3 separate regions of the Homo sapiens genome follow, and regions 2 and 3 are each linked to region 1. Evidence: promoter capture Hi-C in human tissues and cell types (Jung and others, 2019). All regions are on one chromosome and are shown on one strand. Each heading gives the region's core, a stretch centred on a gene start or on the middle of the fragment in contact. The rest is flanking DNA. Distances are from core to core; before and after follow the strand shown. Region 1 holds the start of HSD3B1 (hydroxy-delta-5-steroid dehydrogenase, 3 beta- and steroid delta-isomerase 1). Region 2 has its middle 37 kb from the start of HSD3B1. Region 3 has its middle 45 kb from the start of HSD3B1.

What was found. Contacts are between HindIII fragments. The study calls those that stand out against the background at their distance.
Region 2: a contact is called between a fragment that was not itself captured here and the fragment with the promoter of HSD3B1 in region 1, in 2 of the 25 tissues and cell types used here (pancreas and thymus).
Region 3: a contact is called between a fragment that was not itself captured here and the fragment with the promoter of HSD3B1 in region 1, in 2 of the 25 tissues and cell types used here (bladder and pancreas).

What each region holds. Positions count from the first base shown.
Region 1 is chr1:119,505,294-119,509,255 of GRCh38, reverse strand. HSD3B1 (hydroxy-delta-5-steroid dehydrogenase, 3 beta- and steroid delta-isomerase 1) reads right to left here and starts at 2,046. Exons shown (of 4, transcript NM_000862.3): 1 at 1,994-2,046; 2 at 1,635-1,864. The coding sequence starts at 1,779. RefSeq lists an enhancer at 1,919-1,942 and promoters at 1,865-2,538, 1,865-3,962. The HindIII fragment of the contact is 2,119 bases long and covers 321-2,439 here.
Region 2 is chr1:119,468,061-119,472,086 of GRCh38, reverse strand. It overlaps the pseudogene HSD3BP1. Among named protein-coding and RNA genes, the nearest start is that of HSD3B1, 37 kb to the left of the region's middle. The HindIII fragment of the contact is 4,265 bases long and covers 1-4,026 here.
Region 3 is chr1:119,550,422-119,554,403 of GRCh38, reverse strand. No RefSeq gene overlaps it. Among named protein-coding and RNA genes, the nearest start is that of HSD3B1, 45 kb to the right of the region's middle. The HindIII fragment of the contact is 6,778 bases long and covers 1-3,982 here.

The DNA of each region.
Region 1 (3,962 bases), core at 797-3,296:
TAGTCTGTCTGGGTTCAAATCTAGCTTTGCCATATGCTAACTGTGGGACCTTCAAAAAGTTAACTAACCTCTCTGTTTCTATCTCCTCATCTTTAAAAAAGGAGGATAATATTACCGATCTCATAGGGTTGTTATGAGGAGCAAATGAGTTGGCAAACCTTTGGCCAAGTGCCTGGCACAAAAAGAACACTGAATGCTTTCTCTGTTTTTATCTTCATACAGATCCCTGCCTGTCTATTATATGATCTGCATTTTTACCATAGGGGAACAATACCTCTAGGCTGAGCATTGCTTTTTTCTGGCTTCAGATGTTAAATTGCAAATATTGCTGAGACACAGGCAAGGATTATAAGCATTTCATATTTGTTTATCAAAGACAACATTAAAACAGAGGGTGGAAGAAATCGAACATTTCAAGAGGTCAGAGAAGAGCAAAAGTAGAGTGTTGGGTGTGGTCCCTGAGTGCTGTCAAGTGGGGGATTCTCTGTGGGCAGGGCAGGACCCTCTGGGCAGCCAGAGCCCACATGTAGACACACAGTCCCCCAAATCCCCTGGGTTGGGGAGGAGGACAGGGAATTGTTTTGGGGCACACCAAGGAGCAAAGGGAGAGACTGAAGATCCACTTTGCCAAGCATCAGCTCTGGGGCCAGGTGAAATAGCCTATGGATAAAGCTCTGGTCTGAGCTCTGCTACGCATCAATCAGATGGCCTTAGCATGTTGCTTTGTGATTCCGGACCTTGATGCGTTCATTGTCCTGTTGGATGTGATGCCTTTTCTACCTGCCTCTTGGGGCCATTTGTACAAGGAGTTGCCACAGAAAATTCTGCAGTCAATTTCTTTTTGATGATGAGCAACAGAGGTAAATGTTTTGTTTTTTTTTTTTTAAAAAAAAGCCATATATGCAAAATCTAAATGAGGCATGTCTGGCCTTATACTGCCTCTTACTCTGTCTCTGCTCTGTGCTGTGCACTGTGCACACACATTCTCTCACTGATGCTCTCTCTCTCACTATATATTTTTCATTATTTCTCTGTCTTTCTCATTGTCTCTCTCTCTGAGTCTCTCTCCCCGACTCTCTCTCCCCGACTCTCTCTCCCCCTTATTGTTTTCCTCTCTCTCTGTCACACACACCCACTTATACACTCATCTTTACCTTAACTTCCTTTTATTTTGCCCTCACAAAGGATACTAAGGAAGCTGCAAAACAAAACACAGCCTGGCACGTTCTAGAGAGACAATGACCCATTGGTGAGGTCTCCAGGGTAATAGTGTCCTTTATGAATGTTGTACAGCAATTGCCAAGACAAAAGCTTCAGAACATAAAAGAGTTGCAGACAAGACAAAGAACTGATGTGGGATTTTCTAGATGAGAAGAAAAGAGGCCTGGAGGCTGAGGTGGCTGCTTCTCAAGTTCTGGGTCAGGGCCAGAATCTAGTCTCTGGAAATCCCACCCAGTATCTTTCATACTATGCCATTTTATACTATTTAATATTTATTTCTTGATGACTTTGGATGTGAGATTGGCTTAGATTTGGCTACAAATTTCAATAACTTGCTAGACAAGGTCCATCTCCCCCCACATACATGCAGTGTTTAAGATGGAACCACACACCCATGACCCAAGTTTACTTACTAGAAAATTCCTCTCTCAATTCTGGTCCGAAGGCCTTGTCCAAGACCCTGATCTCCTTCAGCTCCTTCTCCTTCACCAAGAGGCGGATGATCCTCTGTCCCAGAAACCCTCCTGCTCCTGTCACAAGGCAGCTCCAGCCCGTCATGGCCATCCAAAGTAGCAGGAATCACTCACCAGGAAACAGAAGATGCTGGGGAGCAGATCTGATTCTAGGGTGACCCTGGAGAGGGCTAAAAAGAGATGTCAAATGGTTATATACTCACACAGATGCCTCATTTTCCTCCACCCCATTTTTTTTGCAAACATTCTGTGTCCCCACCACTGCAGGAGTAGCTGAAAGAAAATGAAAAATCTCTAACCATTAGTTAGATTGTTAAAAGCTGGACAGAAGAGTGGACGTACTTCTCACCTCATTTCCTGTGGCAAGTCTGAAGCTTTATGCACTGTGGCTTCTGGCCCAACCCTTATCACTTTGATCTCTGGCCATGTACTCATTGCTCTCTCCTCCTATGGGATCCTTATCTCAGAAAAATAGTGACCTTTGGGTTACATCTCTAATTCTTCCCAGGAACAGGAAGAGAAGTCCCATCCTAATGCTGCAGTGTGGCAAAGAGTCTTGGGTTTAGCCTTAACAGGACACTAGTCAGTTGATACCAGCTGTCTGGGATCCACAATCTGTGAACTTAAACTAGACCAGGAGAAATCTGCAAGTGCAATTTGAATTGTGCCCTTGTTCAGTAAATCCATCTGGAGGGAAATCCATGTAAGCCCATTATCTCCTCTCTCAGACTATCATTTGAAATGTTGCTGCTGTCTTACAAAATTTAGAAATTTGCAATGGTGACAGCTCCAATCACTTAGTTTTATGTGAGGTGACTTTCTTTCCTACCCAATATATCTGAAACCTCAATGGTCATTTGCCCCTGGAGAGCCCTGGGTTCCTAGATGAACAACATCATTGAAGGAAAGCTATCTGGTGATAACCACTTAATGATATGGCCTGTATCACAAGAGTGGGGATTTGTGGTTGTATGCCCCAATGACTCTTATCATAGGTGTTCGAACTTATCCATATTTTTGGCTGCAAAACGATTCTCAGCAAATTCTTGAACTGGACATACTGTGAATGCTTCTGAAGCCTATGCCCCAGAACTGCCCAAATATCACCGCCATAAGCTTCCCAAGACACTTTACTCAAAAAAATTGAAATATAATTTACATGCATTAAAATGCCCAGGTCTTCAGTGTTCAGTTCAGTGGAACTTGACAGTTATATATGCCCATGTAAGTAGCACCCCAAAAAAGATATAGACCATTTCCGTCACTCCAGAAAGTTGTTTTCTGCCTGTTCCCTGTTAATTCCCTGACCTTCCCCCAATCTACCTCATAGGCAACTACTTCCTGATTTTTATTCCCACAGTTCTCATTTTATTTCTATATTTCTCTAATTTTTTCTTCTAAGATCTCTGTGGTTCTGGATATATATTTAAATATAAAATTATTTTGAAATGAAGTTTTGTGCAGGGAGTACAGAAAAATTGACCGTTGATTGTCTCTGTTGTTTATTTTTCTATTTCATGATTTTCATTATTTTTATTATTGGCTTACATTTATTAATTTTGTTTTTTTTTTTCACTCGTTTTTCACATTTTTTTTTTTTTTTTTTGAGATGGAGTCTTGCTCTGTCACCCAGGCTGAAGTGCAGGGGCACCATCTCAGCTCACTGCAACCTCTGCCTCCCGGGTTCAAGCAATTCTCCCACCTCAGCCTCCGAAGTAGCTGGGATTACAGGTGCCCGCCACTGCACCGGGCTAATTTTTGTATTTTCAGTAGAGGTGGGGTTTCATCATGTTGACCAGCTGGTATCAAACTCCTGACTTTGTGATCTGCACGCCTCAGCCTCCCAAAGTGCTGGGATTACAGGCGTGAGCCACTGCACCCAGCCCCGTTTTTCAGGATCCTGATAATAAAAGCATAGAAAATTGTTTTTCTTTACTCCTTTCCTATTTCCACTATAGGCATTAAAAGTTGTAAATTTCTCTTTAAGCACTGTGTGAGCTGTACCCAACATTTTGATGTATTGGGTTATCATCATTCAGTTAATAATATTTAAAGTTTTGTCTTGTGGTTTCTTCTCTGACCCAAGTGTTATTCAGAAGTGTGTTGCTTGTTTTCTAAAAGTGAGGATTTTCTAGATATCTCATTGTTATGGATTTCTAATTAAATACTACTGTGGCCAGAGCATATGCACTGTATGATTTTGATTCTTGAATATTTAGTGAGATTTGTTTTATGGTCCAGCATATGGTCTACATTGGTGAACATGCC
Region 2 (4,026 bases), core at 654-3,153, 37 kb after region 1:
CTACCTCCACTCAATAAAAGCTTGCACTCATTCTCCAAGCTCAGGTGTGATTCAATTTTTCTGGTACACTAAGAGAAGAACCCAGGATATAGAAAGCCCTCCGTCCTTGTGGCAAGCTGGACGGTCTAAGGTCTAATTGAGCTGGTTAACACAAGCTGCCTATAGACGGCAAAACTAAAAGAGCAAAACTAAAAGAGCACCATGTAACACATGCCCACTGGGGCTTCAGGAGCTGTGAACATTTGCCCCTAGATGCTGCTTTGGAGTTGGAGCCCTCCAGCCTGCTCATCCGTATGCTCCCCTAGTGGTCTGAGCAGGGGCACTGAAGGAGGGAGCCACACCCCCATCACACGCACTGTGAAGGGGACAAGGGATTTTTCCCATTTCATTCTCATCAGTGTACAACAAGATTTAAAATGATGACTATAGTGGCACTTGGAAGATTTGATTCTGGCCCACAGAGGCAAGGGGTGGCTGGATATCAAGAGTCTGAAGTCGGAGTTTAGCTGAATTTGATTGGAGCCACAGTAGAAAGAGCATCCACAGCCTTTGGAGTCACACAGGGGTGAGTTTAAAGTCTCATTCTCCTACTTACTTACTTACCTGGGGGGCCTTGGACAAGTTACTTGCCATCTCTCAGCCCTAGTCTTCTCATGTAAAAAACTGAAGGTAGCAGCTTTGAACTCCCCCAGTTGGTAGTGATTAGCAAAGACACTTGGCCCAGAGCATAGCAGGTGTTCAGCGGAGGGACTTCTCTTCCTTCATTGTTTATCTTTCTGATCCTTGTTTGCTCCACCTTGCTCCATCTCCTCCTCAGGCTACTGTACCTTTCACGTTGAAGTTCATGATAGACTCTCTGTGAGTGACACCGAAGATGTCAATGATAGAGGCGGTGTGGATGACTACCGAGATGTCCTGGCAGGCTCTCTTCAGGCATGACTGATCCAGAATGTCTCCTTCTAGCACTGTCATCTTGGTCTTGTTCTGGAGCTCTGCAAGAACATAGGTCAGGTCATTGGAAGGGTTTCCGAATCTGGCTTGGAAGTTTCCTGATAAAGATGATGTTACATAGGTGTTCGAGGATGGTTAGAGTTGGGTTGTTAGAGTGGAGGATGTACACTCCATGGAAGGAACAATTAAACAAAGGCACAGAAGTCAGCACGTTTAGCAATTTTTTGGGAAAGAGCAAACATCTGTTTCTACCCCATCTCATTTCAGAAAAGTAATCTGAGCAATGAGCTGTCAGGTGTGCCTGGAATATAAGCACGGCTAGGGTCATGGGAGACTCACCAAAATTTTTAAGGAGAGTAGGGTGATTGTGGAGAGTTGGGTATAAGAGGGAAAAGTTTGAATTTAATTCTGTAGGTAATGCAGAATTGTGATTTTCGGTCTCCAGCACCATGTCACAGAAAACCCCTTATTTATATTTGGAACAAGTAGAGAAACAGGCCAGGGGTGGTGGCTCACACCTGTGATTCTAGCAATTTGGGAGACTGAGGCAGGTGGATCGCTTGCATCCAGGAGGTTGAGACCAGCCTGGACAACTTGGTGAAACCCCGTCTCTACCAAAAATACACAAATTAGCCAGACATAGTGGTGAATGCCTACACTCCCAGCTAATAAGAAGCCTGAGGTAGGAGGATGGATGGGTCCCAGGAGGTGAAGGTGGCAGTGAGCAGAGATCATGCCTCTGGACTCCAGCCTGGGTGGCACAGCAAAATCCTGTTTCAAAAAGAAAAAGAAAAACAGAAGCAGAATTGTAGTGTAGGAAGTTAACCTTGCCTCAAGGATATAAAATGGACTGGTATAGGGGATATGAGAAAGCCAGGGGATCAAGAGATTAATCAGAATGTCTGTGCCAAAGTTTAGATGAGGACTGGAAGCGGGGTCCAGCAGTGGAAGCAGAGGAGGAGAGAGATACACCAGGTTGGAATTTCAGACCTCACCTTGAAGGTCCTGGTACCTGTTGGATCTTGGCTGAGAGGAAAAGGAGAAGATAAAATCACCCCTATGGTTTCCTGCTTGAGCAACTGGGAGGAGAGTGGAGCCATTACTAGCGAATTGCAGAAGAGTTTAAATAATGAATTTTTTTGAAAATTCTTATTGGATATTATCAAAGGAGGTACAAATGCTGAAAATGAGTCAGTCACCAATGAACTAACATCCAGCTGTGTAGCCCAGGGCAGCAGTTACAACATCAATGTCTTCAGGCTCCTCTGAAATCCACAGGTAGTGATGCTGCCAGTAAAGTTGTCACCTGGAATTAGCCCACAAAATGAACACCATGCTACATGGAGCTCAGATAAATACTTTACACTCATTTGTGCTTTATAATCTGCATACAGCTCACAGCTTGCTTATTTCCTTTTACAGCTGTCTCATGAGGTAGGTGTTCTGAATCCCATTTTATTGGTGAAGAAACTGGGGCTCAGAGAGGTTAAGGGACAGATTAAAGGTCACGTTTCTAGTGAAGGCTCAAAGTTGCCCACCCCACCTCCAAGTCTTGTACCCTGTACACCAGGTGCAGGAATAGCTGTTTACAATCAACTTTTCTGAGAAAGAGTAAGAATAAGTCAGTTTAACTGAAATTGGCAACAAAGGCCAAAGAACAGTGAGAGTAAAATTCAGAGTGAAAAATTCAAAGCAGGAGAAATTCCTTCCTGGGATACAGGTGGGACCATTTGCTCTCCTGATGCCTCTGCCTTGTTTTGTCTACTCCCAGCCCCTTCCCACTGTCAGGCAACTCCAAGGAGGCCCTGGAATGGGGGAGGCAGGGAAGAGGCTGCTGGGGAGGAGGTGGGTGACAGCCTGAGAGTGGAATTTTCTCTGGTAGTATTTCCACCTCTGTACTTCCTGCTCCCTTCATCTGCTTCCCATTTGCTGCCAACTTCAGACTGGCTCAAAGGAATTGTCATTTCAAAGCTGAAGAAGTCTAAAGCCAAGAGAAAATGACTCTTCCGCAGTGAGTTCACAGGGAACTAGAGAGACCAGGAAAGGGGACTTTGTGGATGGAGCCATTGCTCCCTCCCTCCTCAAGCTGCTAGACGAACTACTGCTTAAGAGCACAGATGCTGCACTAGACCACATGGGTTCAAATCCAACTTTGCCATATTCTAACTGTGGAACATTGGACAAGTTCATTAATCTCTCTCTGACTGTTTCCTCATCTGTAAGAAAGGAGGCTAATAACATTAACAATCTCATAGGGCTGTTATGAGCAGCAAATGAGTGGGCACATGCAAACCATGTAGCACAGTGCCTGGCACAGAAAAAACACTGAAAGGATTCTCTGTTTTTATCTTCATACAGTCTTTTGCCCATCCATTATACCCCTGCATTTTCACCACAGGGGAATTGTTCCTCTAGGCTAAGCATTGCTTTTTCTTTGTATTACGTGTTAGAGTGCAAATATTGGTGAGACATAATGATTACAATCATTTAAAATTCATGAAGTGTTAATATTTGTTTATCAAAGACACCATTAGAACAGAGGGTGGAGGAAATCAGAAGAGGTCAGAGAAGAGTGAAAGAAGAGTAGAGTGCTGGGTGTGGTCCCTGAGTGCTGTCAAGTGGGGACTCTTCTGTGGGCAGCACATGACCCTCTGCACAATCAGAGCCCACATGTAGATACACAGTCCTCCCAATCCCATGGGATGGGGAGGAGGACAGGGAATTGGACACACAGGGAGGCAAAAGGAGAGACTGAAGACCCATTTTGCCAAGTGTCAGCCCCAGGGCCAAGTGAAGCCTCTGGATGAAGCTTTGGTCTGAGCTCTGCTACACATTAATCAGATGGCCTTGGCAAATCGCTTTGTTTCTGGACCTTGATGCGTTCATTGTCCACTTGGATATCACCCCTTTTCTACCACCTTCCTCATAGTGTTATTTGCACAAGGAGTTGCTACAACAAATTCTGCAATTGCAGGGTGGGGGTGGGGGGGGGGCGGGTATTGAGCAACAGAGACAAATGGTTTTTAAAAAAAAGCCATATGTGAGAAATGAAAATGAGGCATGCCTGGCCTTATA
Region 3 (3,982 bases), core at 990-3,489, 45 kb before region 1:
CTGCAAGTACCCTGTAGATAGCAGTTTTCTGCTGCCAGACTGTGGTTTTAAGGTCATTTCTGCTAATGCAAAGCACATTCCAATGGGTTTCAATTTCCAGCTGCTCCTGTGAGATCCAGGCCACTTTTCTCAGTGCTCTCTGCATTCAGCCAGTGCCCTGCCTTATTCTAGCAGCCAGGAATGTTCAGCTTTGGAAGCCAGTGAGGTGGGTGGCAAGTTGTTCCATATACCACGTTTCCCTCTGTTTAAGAAGTTTGAAAATGGTATCAGTGTATGTGCGGTGTTCAAGCTGGCATTCTCACGAACATATTTGAAGGATGTTCAACACAAGTAAAGCAACTGACAGACTCCTGTTCATGGAGACTAGGGATTCACTGGAAGCAGTTCCATGCAGTCTTTTTATTCACTGAAGACACTCCACTGAGATGCTTTTCTGAAAGCATCAAGGGCTGAGGTAGGGAGTGGTTCTGCCTGGGTGTTCTGATACCATCTGTGTATGGCTGGCCTTCCCCAGGCCCCAAGACTGTGACTCATTAAGAGCAGAGACTCTGGGAAGTTCACCCCTCAGCTGAGTAGACATGTTCCAGGCATAGTGCTCAATGCTGGGGAGACAGATATGAGAGAGGTAGAGATGCTTACACATTCCAACACCATTTAAGGGTGAAGGTGAAGGCTGATTTTGTTTCCTGCCTGCCCAACCTGCTTGGGGTGAATTATTTTGCCAACTGTATGTATGACTTTAAGGATTTGGCCCCTGGGGCTGCAGGTGGTGAGAGGTGGACAGGGTGAACTTCATGTCAAGGCTTCACATGTTATGCTAGGGCAAGACGGTACATTCAACAAAGGCTCAGTGTTAAGCAGATTCTCTGCCAAGGACTTTGCAACTATAAGTCAGGGTTCCCACCACTGCTGCAAATTAGGCAATGTCCACTGTACCTGGCTTTGTTGGGTGAGGGAAGGAACAGTGTGTAACCTTGGAAAAGCTAATTCACTTTGTCAAGGGGCTGGAAAAGGATCTGGCTAGACAGGCCTCTTGTCAAGGGCAGCATTAGCTAATGTCTGAAATGAGGGTCACCTCAAGGTTTCACCTGAAGTAGCTCTGCCGATTTCTGTGTTGAAGTTAATAGAGTTGGTAGAAATCACAGACATGACTTCATAGCCTGAGATTCACTGGACTGACACAGCCACTGCTGAGTGTTGCTGCAGCCTAGACCAAGCCCTATAGGTATTCTTGATCTTGCTCTCATCTGTGCAGTGGAAAGATGCAGGTATGAGGTGTGGGGAAATCAAACCAAATGACAAACACGAAGGCTCTTGTAAGATTCAGGGGCTTGTGTGAATGTTAGGAAGCAAGGTGGTTACCAGGTGGTTGTGCTCAGTGCTGCAGAGAAGGGGCTGCTGAGGGGTGTCCTAAAGTCTTGTGTCATAGCTCCTGGGAGCCTAGAAGGAGGAGAGAGGCAGTTGCTGTGCATGTGGCCTGTGTCCTCTGGGATTTCCAGCTCCTGGGGCAGGGTGATGAGGAAGTGAGAAGGCATGGCCTCCCTTTCCTGAGAACAGGAAGAAAGAAGGAACTAGTTCTGCCTCTCCTTTGAGGGTGTGCTGTGCGTGGAGTGTGCAGGGCAGAGCTTTGGCATTAACTGGCAGTGGACTTGAGCAAGGCATGACTTTTCTGGGTTTCTGATTCCTCTTCAGTAGGCACTATCTCTATTGGCTCTGCCCACTTTTGTGTCTAGTGATTTTCTAAGAATTTTAAAACCTACTTGGGAAACATCCACATTTTAATGTAAAGACAAAAGTCCTTATTTAAGTCATCACTAAGTTTTGCAGTTCAGTGGTCAGCAGATATCAGGGAGGGAGGGCATCGGCCACACTTTTTGGCCCCACTTCTTGATCCTTGACAACCCTATGAGAGGTATGATGCCCCTTTCCCAGTGAGGTGCCAGGTGCCACTAGAGCCAGGGAAGTGCTGGGAAACCACTTTCTCAAGCGCCTTCAGCTTCACGCAAACAAATAAGCACATGGAGGCTTGTGTTATTATGAAGTTTAGCTGCAGAAGTGTGCAGGTGTCAGAGGATGCAAATCAACTTACTTTTTTACAGCCCAATGTCACTGGCAACAGACCTTAGAAATGAGCCATAACCTTCATTTCTCAGGAAGGTAAACAGACCCAGGAAGGTGAAGAGATTTGCTTAACTTCGATGGCAAAATTGAAATGAGAACTCAAGATTTGCACCCCTCACTCTCATTTGTAGAAATATTCTGTTTCTAAAATGAAAGAATACTTGTTTCTTTTTGCCCTCCTCTCCCCCTTTCCTTAGTCCCTCTCACAGCCAGCTACTTTTATTTCTGTATCATGAAACATCTGCCTGTCTCCGTTCGTGGAGCACCCACGTTCCTCAAGCTGTTGTTCCCATGGGAGGTTGGGCTGTATGGGCCAGACAAATGGCTTAGCTAGCTGACTTCTGGTTAAACCTGCCCTCTGCCCTCTTTCAAATGTCTCCCATCCCAGTTTTTTTAAATCCCTTCATAAATATGTTGGTAGGGCAACCTTCTAGTTCTATGCCTTCACCCCCCTTTTCATCTTAAAGGTAGCAAATCCTAGGTCACTATTACAGATGGTGGTCTAGGTGAACATTGGGAAAGTCATCTTGCTTCCCAGGCCTCGGTTTCCTCATTGGTAAAATGAAATAAGGAAAGGAGCCCACAGTTAAAAGCTGGAGTAAAGGTCTCTAGATCCTTCTTTAACTTCAATTTAATAAAAATTTTAGAGATGAGGTCTTGTCTGGCCTTGAACTCCTGGATTCAAGTGATCCTCCTGCCTCAGTCTCCTAGTAGCTGGGGCTATAGGTGTGCCCCTCCATGCCTGAGGAAGCTTTCTTTAGCTCTAAAATCTGAACTCCACAAGGACATTGATCTGCCCTGGAAGAACCAGGGAGCCTTTTCCATTTACCCACCATAGGTCAGGCAACAGGTGTTTTGCCTGCTGCTGAAAGAAGTTCTCATAATCAAGACTGCCTGCATATTTTACAGGGATCAGTGCAAAATGAAATGTGGGGTCCCATGGCAGCCCCTTAAGCCAAGCACAGGGCCTGGGTGATGGCACAGGCCATGTGCCCATGGAACTGCTCTGCTCAGGGCTACACCAGGGATTTGACAGACTCCAGCTGATGCAGGAAGGAGTTAGGTCTGGGCTCATGAGAAGGGTATTCCTACCTCAGTGGCCAGGGTTCATGCTAGGATGACAATAGTCCCACAGCCCACCTCATGCCCACACCTCTGTCACCAGTATCTGTTTAGGAAGAATGGCTGACTTTGCTAGTGCTGGTTCTTCCATTTCTTGAGGAAAGAGTCCGCTGTTCAATAGGGAGCTTCAGGTTTCCAGAACAGATTACTGACTGTTTTGGAGTCTGCAACTGACCCCAGTGCCCCCTGCTTTTGGGGACAGAGTGGCCAAGCCACTTTCTTCTGTTCATCTAGCCTTCCCCCTTCACTTCCTCATAATGAACCTATTTCATGCCTCAGATCACCGACTCCATTCCCTGCTCATTAGACTTGGGTGGCATCTTGGTCCATGATTAAAAAAAAAAAAAAAAAAAGGAAAAAAAATCCCTCCAAATTGCCACCAGAGTCTCTTGATGTCTCAAGAAGAACATGTAGCCAGAGATGTTGAGTGATCCTCACTTGAGTTGCCTAAGAGTGTGAGATTCTCTTCTGAATTTAATTTTTAAAACAAATTTTCTTTTTCTTATAGTATAAAAATGCTCTGGGCCTTGTGCCATTTCAGGTTTTGGATTTAATTCCCAGTCCCTTTATAACCTTGGCAGCTGGGCTTCACTTTCATCAGCCTTTCCATTTCCCTGCTTGTAGGCCTCTCACAACCCCACTCACTCTTCATATCACACAAATGAGTTCATTCTCAGCTCCATACACTCCGTGCGCCTTCTCTTTCTCCTGGATCTCTTTATGATGATCTAGCTTCTTC